Regions from separate parts of the Homo sapiens genome. Here all the other regions are linked to region 2. The links are contacts of gene promoters, found by promoter capture Hi-C in blood cells and fetal thymus (Javierre and others, 2016). All regions are on one chromosome and are shown on one strand. Each heading gives the region's core, a stretch centred on a gene start or on the middle of the fragment in contact. The rest is flanking DNA. Distances are from core to core; before and after follow the strand shown. Region 1 holds the start of GOLGB1 (golgin B1). Region 2 holds the start of POGLUT1 (protein O-glucosyltransferase 1). Region 3 holds the start of FAM162A (family with sequence similarity 162 member A).

Region 1 (3,453 bases), core at 11-2,510, 2.3 Mb before region 2:
TTCTTCTTCCCCCACCTTCCCTCTTCTTCTTTCCCCACCTTCTTTCCTCAGCTTCTTTTCCCTATCCCCACCTTCCCTCTCTTCTTCCCCCACCTTCCCTCTTCTTCTTCCCCTGCCATCCCTCTTCTTCTTTCCCCTTTCCCTACCATCCCTCTTCTTTCCCCTTTCCCCACCATCCCTCTTTTTCTTTCCCCACCTTCCGTCTTCCTTTCCCCTTTCTTTCCTCTCCTTCCTTCTTCTTTTTCCCCCCTCATCTCCCTTCCTCTTTCCCCACCATCCCTCTTCTTCTTTCCCCACCTTCCCTCTTCTTGTGAAAATATTTTTCTTCATTGGTTGATGTGATCATGTGATTGTATATTTTTGCATATAATTGATATGTCTCAAAGTTATATTTTTCAAGACAATTTCTTATTTCTCCAAGATTTTAAGATTTATTCATATAGAATTCTATGTTGGATATTTTATTTAACAAATATTTATTGAGTATATACTATGCTGAAGATACGTTAGGTATGGAAGATACATTAATAAATAAGGCTGCATGAAAGTTTTGGAATAAGTTTGCATTTGGTATAGAGGAAGGTAAGATGATGATGAGGAAAGAACTGAAAAAGGGGAGAGGGAATTGGGCAACAGTAAATCACAGAGAATGTGACATTTCTTGTCTTTCAACTTTTCCTCCCTGTACTTTCAATTAGGGAAATGATCACTCTCTAAGGGACACCTGAATGACTCCACACTTCTGTGATTTCTGCAGTCTCTAACTGCTCTGGAGCTTAGAGTCATATCCAAACCCCTTAGCATAAAATGGCACAATTTTATGACCTACTCTTTGCCTAACCATTCAGTCATATCACTTATGTCAAATTGCCCAAATGGTCCATGCACATGCTGCTCCATCTACCTCCACTATTCTGTACCCTCTTTTTTGCTGGGGCAACCCCTAATTATCTTTTATTATCTTGATCACCCTCTCAGAGCCTAAATTGCTTCCATTAAGTTGCATTCTAAATTATTTCCAGTCCTTCAGTGAACTTAGAAATAATATGTTTTGCTCTTTAACTTCTCCACCTCATTTTCTTCCTTCACACCCCTAGTGTTCACTATAATTCTCACCATACTGTGCTCACCCAATAATAGAAGGTAGAGCTATAAGAAGACCTACTAGACAGAAAAAATTCTAATCTCGTCTCCCATAAGAAACTTTCATTCTGTTAAAACTGAAAGGTAAATTCTAAGGTCGAATGTGGAAATAAGTATGTAGAAAGGTAAATTTTGTGTAAGGGAGTACAATAGGACTCTCAGTGATGGCTTCTATTTTCTCTAAGATAGAAGCAAGTTCATCTGCTAGGAGTGTGAAGTGTAGACACGGGGTTGGGACTTAAAGAGGATGTTAAAGGTTTGAATAATTGTGGCAAATAGGAGAGGAAGCTGAAGACAAGAAGGATTTGGGAGTGTGCTGAAGATGGAGTTCAGCTGGAAACTGAATGTGCAGTGGTCAGGACATTGATGTCACTGATGACATTGTCCTGATGTCTCCTGCAGCATTTTGCTCCCCAAAGGTAGAAGTAGAGACCAATGGTTGGACTGATGCAGGTTTAGGACTTTGCTGGGTGGATACAATCAGGGATATAAGAATATGATGTATTCATTAAGTACTGCAGCATTCAAATTCTGTCTCTGCCCCTCACCATGTGACCTTGTGCAAATTATTTAACCTTCTGAAGTCTTATTGTCTCACATTTAAGATAAGGATAATCATATATACTTTATTAATTTAACAGATATTGAGTGCCCTCCTCTATACTTTTCTGGGACCTGGAGATAAAGCTGAGATCAAAATTACTACCTTCCTGGAGCTTATAATCTAATGAGAAGAGAGATACCAGATAAATGAAATATATAGTACTTTAGATGGCAAAATGCTTAGGGGAAAAAGAAGCAAAGAAGAAGTATATAGTGCATGCAGGAAATTGCAATTTTATTTATGTTTGTATTGATACATATTTGTACATATTTATGGGGTGTGGTAGTTTGATATATGCATACAATGTGTAATGATCAAATCAGGGTGTTTAGGATATCTATCACCTCAAACATTTATCATTTTTGTGTTTGGAACATTTCTAATCTCCTAGTTATTTTGAAATATATAACATATTGTTAACTATAGTCACCCTACTGTGCTATCAAACACTTGAACTTATTCCTTCTATCTACGTTTGTACCCATTAACCAATCTCTTCCCTCCCTCCCCCAACTCCACCTTCCCAGCCTCTGGTACTTATCTCTACTCCATGAGATCAACTTTTTAAGCTCCCACATGAGTGAGACCATGGGATATTTGTCTTTCTGTGCCAGACTTATTTCACTTAGAATAATGACCTCCAGTTCCGTAAGATGGGCAGCCAGGAAAGGCCTTACTTAGCTGATGTTTGAATTGTGAAGTTATGTAATCATTAAGATGAGTATACATACAATGGGCCAGCTGAGTGCACAGCAAGATTCAATAAATTCAAACTAACATTACTCTTATTGCCAAGAGAGTGCCTGAAATGACAGCTCATTGGAAACTGGCTACTTTCCTTCCCTTTCCTTAGGGGTTTAAGGAAAGCATGAGTGATTTCAGTCTTTTGCTGGAGCTCCTCACTGACACTCATTGCAGAGCCTGAGCCCTCAACTCTCAATCTTTGCTTAGGTCCTGGCTTAGGCTCCACTTTGTAAGAGGCACCTTCCTAGTATTCACTACTCTCTCTCTCACAATCATGTCCTTACAGACATTGCTGATCCTCTTTCATACTGACACCGGGTTCTAGTCCGAGTTCCATCACTAAGTCGCTGTTTGACTTTGGGCAAGTTACTTCTGTGGTTAATTATTTTTCATCAACAAAATCAAAAGGTGAAACTAGACGAACAACTAAGAGGCTCCAGTATTTTTTCAATCTAAGAGTCCCATATCCCCCACTCCCTTCTCACAGCTCATTCAACAATCCTAATGGCAGCGGGTGCCCGCAGTCTCAAGTCTCTGCCGAAGCCCAAGCCGCTGTCTCGGTCAGTCACAACCGACGAAGAGGAGGAATTGGAGGAAGCCAGCATAACCACTTCACACTGAGAACATCTGACCTTTCCCAGAACGCCCGCCCACTCGACACTTCCTGTCCCTCCCCAGATCTTGTTCCGGGGCACCTACTCGCGTCTAATCACTCCCCTCATTCACTCTTTAGGGTCCATTGGCTGTTTCTTTGAGGAAGCGGAGCATCTTCTGTCGTTGATTGGTTTCCGTCATTGTTGATAGGTTGGTAACAAACAAGGTGTGCCTGGTCTCCCTGGTAACGTCCTGCCGATAGTCCTGATTGGTCGGTGTCTTAATCCCATCTTCCGTCCCAACTGCTAGTGGCTGAGTCCCTGGCGGGGCGCGGCGGTGGAAGGTGTCGCGTACGGGCTTCCCGAGCT
Region 2 (3,194 bases), core at 250-2,749:
TGGGATTACAGGCACGTGCCATCATGCCCAGCTAATTTTTGTATTTTTAGTAGAGACAGGGTTTCACCATGTTGGCCAGGCTGGTCTCGAAATTCTGACCTCAGGTGATCCACCTGCCTTGGCCTCTCAAAGTGCTGGGATTACAGGCATGAACCACCATGCCCAGCCTGATGTGCATTTTCTAAAGATAACCATCAGGAAATTTAGGACTAGATTCAGCGATAGATGGGTTTATTTCCTCAACAATATTTATCGAGCACGCACTGACAGCTAGCACCAGGGAGACAACAGCAAATAAGACACAGACCCTGACCTCAGGAAGCTTGCAGCCCAGTGGGAAAAACAGATGCACATGCACTGAATCCCGCAGTGAGTCAGTGGTTAGGTTGACACCACCTGAGCCTTTCCCATGCGAGAGCATTTTTATTCCCCAGAAATAGAAAAACATCCTTGCCTTTCTGACCACTGCAACCAAAATCTCTCAAGGATGTTAGAATACTTCCTGTGACAGCAACTAAACTCTCAAAGACACATCAAAGAAAAGAACTCACCCATGGTAGCAGCTGCAGTTTTGACTTGAACATGGTTCGTAATTCTCCAAAGACCTGTTAATTTGGTCAATAAATACTTTCCATTTTGAACCTTTAAAAAGTGAAGTAAATGAGAGTTAAAAAAATTTTCCTGAATGTTATTTGCTGACACCACACCAACAGAAGAAACAGAAGACCAAAACTTTCAGAAATCCCCTTCCCATCCCACTGATGGAAACGAAACGCTAGGGAGGAATTTTTGTGTGTGCAACTCCCACGCTCACGTCAAGTCTGTTCCTCTATCCGGCTGTCAGGTGTCCAAGAAACTGGAAAATTCCCAAGCTTAATGCTCAACCCTCAGAATGCTATGGATAGTGACGCGGACTCTCACTTTCTACTAATCAAATTGAACTCCACAAAGAGGATCAGTTAAAAGCTACAGACATTAAACCCCTCTTCTCTTCTGGCAACGCATATACACACACGCTCGCGCGCACGACATTTGCCCCCATCCCCGACCCCTCAGTGTTTCAGGCAGGTCCAGAGTAGCCAAGCACGGGCCACGCCTCCTGCGGGTGAACGGGGAATTCCCTCTCCTCCCTGTCATTCTGAATTCCGGGGAATGGGTTACTCTCCAGGGTCCAGAGCAGGAGCAGAGACCCCGGCACCTCACTCTCCGCCGCAAGGCGCCCCGGTGCCTTCTGCCCAGCTCCGAGCTACAGCGGCCACGGCATCTTCCCGGGAGCCGGCCGCGCGGGGGAGCGCCTCGGGACTCCGGCCAGACCCCGAGCCCAAGGGGCAGGCTCGGCACTGCCCGGAGCCCACCTGACTCCTTCTGGCGGCCCTGCGCTGAGGGCAGGAGGAACAACAGCAGCCAGAGCCGAAGCGGCGAGCTAGCCCACCACTCCATCGCCGGCAGACCTACTGCAGATTCCCCGCTGCGGCGCTGGCGGAAGCGCGGCCCCGCACAAAGATGGCCCGGGAGCCGCAGCACGTGGGCGGCGGGTCGCCCCGCACAAAGATGGCCACCGTGGCCCCACCACCCTTCCTCCAGTCCCCAGCCTTGAGGCGGAGTTTCCCTGAGAAGGCTGCGCCGGGAAGGTGGGGAGGATAAACGAATGGACCAGTTGCCTATCCTCCCTCCCTGGCACCCCTGGGAAAATAGGTCTGCAGCCAGAAAACTGAAGGTCAGAGAGGGTATGTTTCACGGTTAGTGGCACAACCAAGACTTGGCATAGAGCCTAGGCCAAACAGTTCTTCTCTTGACGTCAAATTGCCTCTTATCAAATAGCATAAATTTGTTGAGCATGTGTGTGTGTGTGTGTGTGTGTGTGTGTGTGTGTGTACAGCACGGTTAGACCCCAAAGGTTGCAATTAGCATAGCAGGGATCCCTTTGTAATAGGAATTTATAACAGTTGGGGTGACTTAGACGTAGGAAAAAAGATCAATGGTGTTAAATAAAGTTTATGGGAGGTCGTTGTTTTGGACAGAACTCTGGCACTAGGCCTCAAGAGAGCAGACAAAACCAGAATGGAGGCAACTTGTCCTAGGTGCTGCGTAATTAAACTCAGCTTTAAAAGGGGTCAGTTTTCCAACAAATAGGAGAAGGGGCCCATATACCTGAGCTGGCATGATAAAGAAGTCCCCTCTGATGTAACTCTTTGAGGAAAGTAACTTCAAAATGACCAATCTGCTTTTTGTTCCTTATTTCTGCTTTCTTCAGCCCTTTTCTGCCTATAAGCCCAACCCCTTCTGCTCAGCTCATTAGAACACTTTTCTGTTTTATAGATGAGATGCTGCCTGATTCATGAATCACTAATAAAAGCCAATTCGATTTTTTTTTTTTTTTGAGACAGAGGACAGTCTAACTCTGTTGCCCAGCCTGGAGTGCAGTGGCACAATCTTGGCTCACTATGACGTCTGCCTCCCGGGTTCAAGCAATTCTTCTGTCTCAGTCTCCCGAGTAGCTGGGATTACAGGAGTGTGTCACCATGCCCGGGTAATTTTTGTATTTTTAGTAAAGACAGGGTTTCACCGTGTTGGCCAGGTTGGTCTCAAACTCCTGACCTCAGGTGATCTGCCCACCTCGGCCTCCCAAAGTGCTGGGATTACAGGCGTGAGCCACCATGCCTGGCCAAGAACTTTAAACTAAATTTGATGAAATTTTGTTTCTTGACAGTGGGCAACATGATACTGGACAATATAGGTATATAGTATAGTACAGGTATATATCTTTATACAGGTATATATAGGTCAGTGTAGATATATTTAGTAATCATAGAACTACAAATATTTATCTATTTTCTTTTTTTTTTTTTTTTTTGAGATGGAGTTTCGCTCTTGTTGCCCAGGCTGGAGTGCAATGGTTCAATATCGGCTCACCACAACCTCCGCCTCCTGGGTTCAAGCAATTCTCCTGCCTCAGCCTCCTGAGTAGGTGGATTACAGGCTTGCGCCACCACACCCGGCTAATTTTGTATTTTTAGTAGAGATGGGGTTTCTCCATATTTGTCAGGCTGGTCTCGAACTCCCGACCTCCGGTGATCCACCAGCCTCGACCTCCCAAAGTGCTGGGATTGCAGGCGTGAGCCACTGCGCCCAGCAATATTTATCTATTTTCTAAAATGTACATGGTTATATCCCTAAGCCTTGTGGAAATATGG
Region 3 (3,168 bases), core at 286-2,785, 2.9 Mb before region 2:
AATCACTCAAGGAATTCTGCTTTGGTTAAGTGGTCAATAGTGAAGTTTTTACACATCAGAAGTTTGCAGAGATGCAAAAATATATTTATGCAAGATGCATAAATATATTCTCAAAGCAAGAAGATGAACTACTTACAATATACTCAGTATTAGTTCAAAGATGTCAAAGTAGTTCCAAGATGTCAAAGTTCTTTTCATGCAGTCCATTTTAACTTTTTTACAGAGCAATGATCCTTTCACTTGCCTTGTTGAAAAGCTTCATAATGTTAATAGGATGTACAGAAGATATTTTAGGTGAATTAGTTCAACAAAACTGACAAAATCAATGAAATCATAGTATTGAGGATTTTAGTGGAAGAAGTGTTTGCTTTTAAAGGAAGTAAATATAATAATACTCTCTAGTTTGAGACATGTTTTCCAGTCCATTCTCTACCGGAACACTAGATAAGCTGTGTAAAGGATAATCTTGAGGTGGGGAAGGTTATGTATCAAACTTGTGAAACTATGCAACATTCACTCTTTTTTTTTGCATTACTTCATTTACATTACAATATATATTTATATTATTTGAATAGCCAAGTTTGGGGCTATTTTTCCTTTAAAAATTTAATTAACAACTTTTTAATAATGTAGTGTGTGCCATTGAACAAAAGATCTCTGGTACCCAGAAAAGAGTCAAAATGCAAGCCCTCTGATTTCTCAACCCCTACTATGCCAAGGCTCTGCTGGTTCTCCCAAAAAAAAAGAATTAAGCTTTCATTACCTAAGTCCAAAATAGTCATCACACAAATGTCTACCACCAAAACAAACTGCAGATCCTTCAATTACACACTTCCTCCAAGAAATTCGAATCAATTAATTGTATAAGTGTTTAAAAGTAATGTATCCTCCATTTTAAGAAAACAATTATTATTAATCTCTAAGACCTAAATCCTTGGCCTAATCAGACATTTAATGAGTGGGGAAACTTCAGACTGGAGGTTTTCTGGGATAAACTCCAGAGAGGAAGGAGCAGGGGGAAGAGGGAAGACTCAAGGAGAGCAATAGATAGGGGAGGTTAGGGTGGAAAGCTGAATGCATGGGTAAAGGGGAGGTCTAGGGATAGTAGGTGCTTTACAGACTGAGCTCAGGGGAGGCTGAGGACGGGGGTGGGGAGAAGGGTAGGCGCGTGGGCAGTTAAGTTGGTGGGAGCTGGGTGGATGGAGATGAGGGTAATTCACGGGCAGTCTCCAATGCCTATCAGCAGCTGCTCACCTAGTTCCCTCCCACATGGCTACTAAGTAGGTAGGATTCTGAGGAACCGAGAAAGTGCGTCATGGAATGGAGCCACTCCGGGGCCCAGGAAGGCTTCAGGATTCCCCCACCCGCAGCGGCCGGGCCAGCTCCCCTACCTCCCATATCCCGACCGGCGTCTCACCTGCTGCCAGGCGCAGACCGCTGAGGCTCCCCATGGCCACTTGCTACTCCGCCGACCAGCGCAGAACTTCGCCGGGGACGGTGGCGCTGGTGAGCTCAATGTCACCCAGCGTTGGAGTGGGAAGGACGCAGGCGGCGCCGGGGGGCGGGGCGTGCGCGACGCGGTGTACAGGCCTGCGCCAGTGCGGGGCGTGTAGGACGTGCGCCACGCGCTGGAGACCCGCGGCGCCAGCCTAGTGCCCCTGGCGCCGCATCCTGAGCCAGCCTCGGAGATGGTCCTGTGGAGTGTGGCGCCGTGGGCCCTTGCCCTAGCGGATATGTACCCATGGGAGTACCTGTGTGAAATAGAAAGGAAATGTGCAACTTTCGTGATCTGTAAACTCCCGAAATACACCAGATAAACCAGTATTCCAGTATGCCGCTCTTCCAGTGTTTTCAATGAACATATGCTTTTATCAGAAAACACATAATTGGACTCTGCTCAGTGGCCCTATCTCTTGTTGGAGCATCCCTCAGGCTAATCTGAGAAATTAACATGTATGTTTTCAATTTGTTTTCTATTTACCTATTTTCTAAAAACATTTGATCATCTCCATCCTAAACACTTTACTCATACCCACCCACACTGCCAGAAATGCCGTTTTTTCTTGACGTTTCTTAGTGGTCCCAAATTCTTAACAAAGACCCCCCTGCTCCAGGGTCCGGGGAGGAGGTTAGGCACTGGAGTGAGAGGTATTAGAAAGGCCTCACTTGCCTAGATTTCCTTCAACGACCTGGTAGGGGAACCACAAGGAAATTGTTTCCCTTTTGTGAAAAGATGGGATTGGAGTAAACAGTCCCTTCAAGGTCTGACAATCTTTGATCCATGTATCTGGCCCAGTTCCAGGAGGACATGTTAAAAGGGTTGGGACAGCAGGGTGACAGGTTCCGAGGTGGATGCGGACCACGTTGAACTCAAGCCTTGCACTCAGCTTTCCTAAGGATTCCCCTCGTACTATATTTTTTGTCAGGCGACTCCGCGGTCACCTTTGCTCCGCGGTGATTGGCCTGCAGCGGGGTCCTCGTGTTTGTCCAATATGGCGGCGCCCAGTGGCGGTGTGAACTGTGAGGAGTTCGCCGAGTTCCAGGTGATGGGGTTTTCCTCATGTGGCAGGCATGTGCCTCCTTTTGTCCCCAGACCCTATTCCCTGCTTTGCGAGGGAGTATGAACCAGCTTTGGAAAAAGCGGGCAATTCAAAGCTCTTTTCTCGAGCCATTGGAGGTCATGGGGGGCGCGGGTTTGGCCTTAGGGAGCGAGGCTGCTCTGTAGGAGGAGGGAGGAGGGGGGTCATAGTTCTCTCCGCGGCTCTCCGGCCTTGTCTGGGAAGCTCTGGGTAATCTGCTGTGGTAAAGCTCGGGATGCGTGGATAAGGATTGTAACAATCTTGTAGCAGTTCCCTGAACTCAGTTTCCAGCTTCTGCCATTCCTCTCCTACTTTTGTAAGTAGAGTTTTTGTGGGAGAGAAGAAGGTGCAGAAGAGCTATTTAGTTGATAAAACATACTTGGTGCAATTTACTATTTTTGTGGGACAGGACGTATGGAAGCTTGGAGGGAGGATTAATTATAGTACCTGCTCTAGTGTCATTGCCCATTAGAGAAGATGTAATATTTAGAGGTTTTGCCTTTTTATGTTCAAATATCAGAGACCTAGGGCTAATTATTAACACCTGAATGCAAGAATAGGGATCTGGTTTTGACCAAGTTGCCATTAA

The links. The method cuts DNA at HindIII sites, captures the fragments that hold promoters and counts their contacts. A CHiCAGO score of 5 or more calls a contact.
Region 1: a fragment that was not itself captured here is called in contact with the fragment with the promoter of POGLUT1 in region 2 in 1 of 17 cell types (neutrophils); the score reaches 5.1 in neutrophils.
Region 3: the fragment with the promoter of FAM162A here is called in contact with the fragment with the promoter of POGLUT1 in region 2 in 3 of 17 cell types (non-activated CD4 T cells, activated CD4 T cells and fetal thymus); the score reaches 6.5 in non-activated CD4 T cells.

What each region holds. Positions count from the first base shown.
Region 1 is chr3:121,749,688-121,753,140 of GRCh38, reverse strand. It overlaps GOLGB1 (golgin B1), which reads left to right and starts at 3,400. Exons shown (of 22, transcript NM_001366282.2): 1 at 3,400-3,453. RefSeq lists an enhancer at 3,433-3,453. The HindIII fragment of the contact is 9,962 bases long and covers 1-3,453 here.
Region 2 is chr3:119,467,268-119,470,461 of GRCh38, reverse strand. POGLUT1 (protein O-glucosyltransferase 1) reads right to left here and starts at 1,499. Exons shown (of 11, transcript NM_152305.3): 1 at 1,356-1,499; 2 at 552-642. The coding sequence starts at 1,440. RefSeq lists a silencer at 1,223-1,422 and enhancers at 1,473-1,642, 1,335-1,835. The HindIII fragment of the contact is 3,798 bases long and covers 875-3,194 here.
Region 3 is chr3:122,382,549-122,385,716 of GRCh38, reverse strand. FAM162A (family with sequence similarity 162 member A) reads right to left here and starts at 1,535. Exons shown (of 5, transcript NM_014367.4): 1 at 1,418-1,535. The coding sequence starts at 1,451. It overlaps MIX23 (mitochondrial matrix import factor 23), which reads left to right and starts at 2,486. Exons shown (of 5, transcript NM_001017928.4): 1 at 2,486-2,543. The coding sequence starts at 2,493. RefSeq lists enhancers at 1,351-1,400, 1,224-1,724 and a silencer at 1,491-1,640. The HindIII fragment of the contact is 2,247 bases long and covers 756-3,002 here.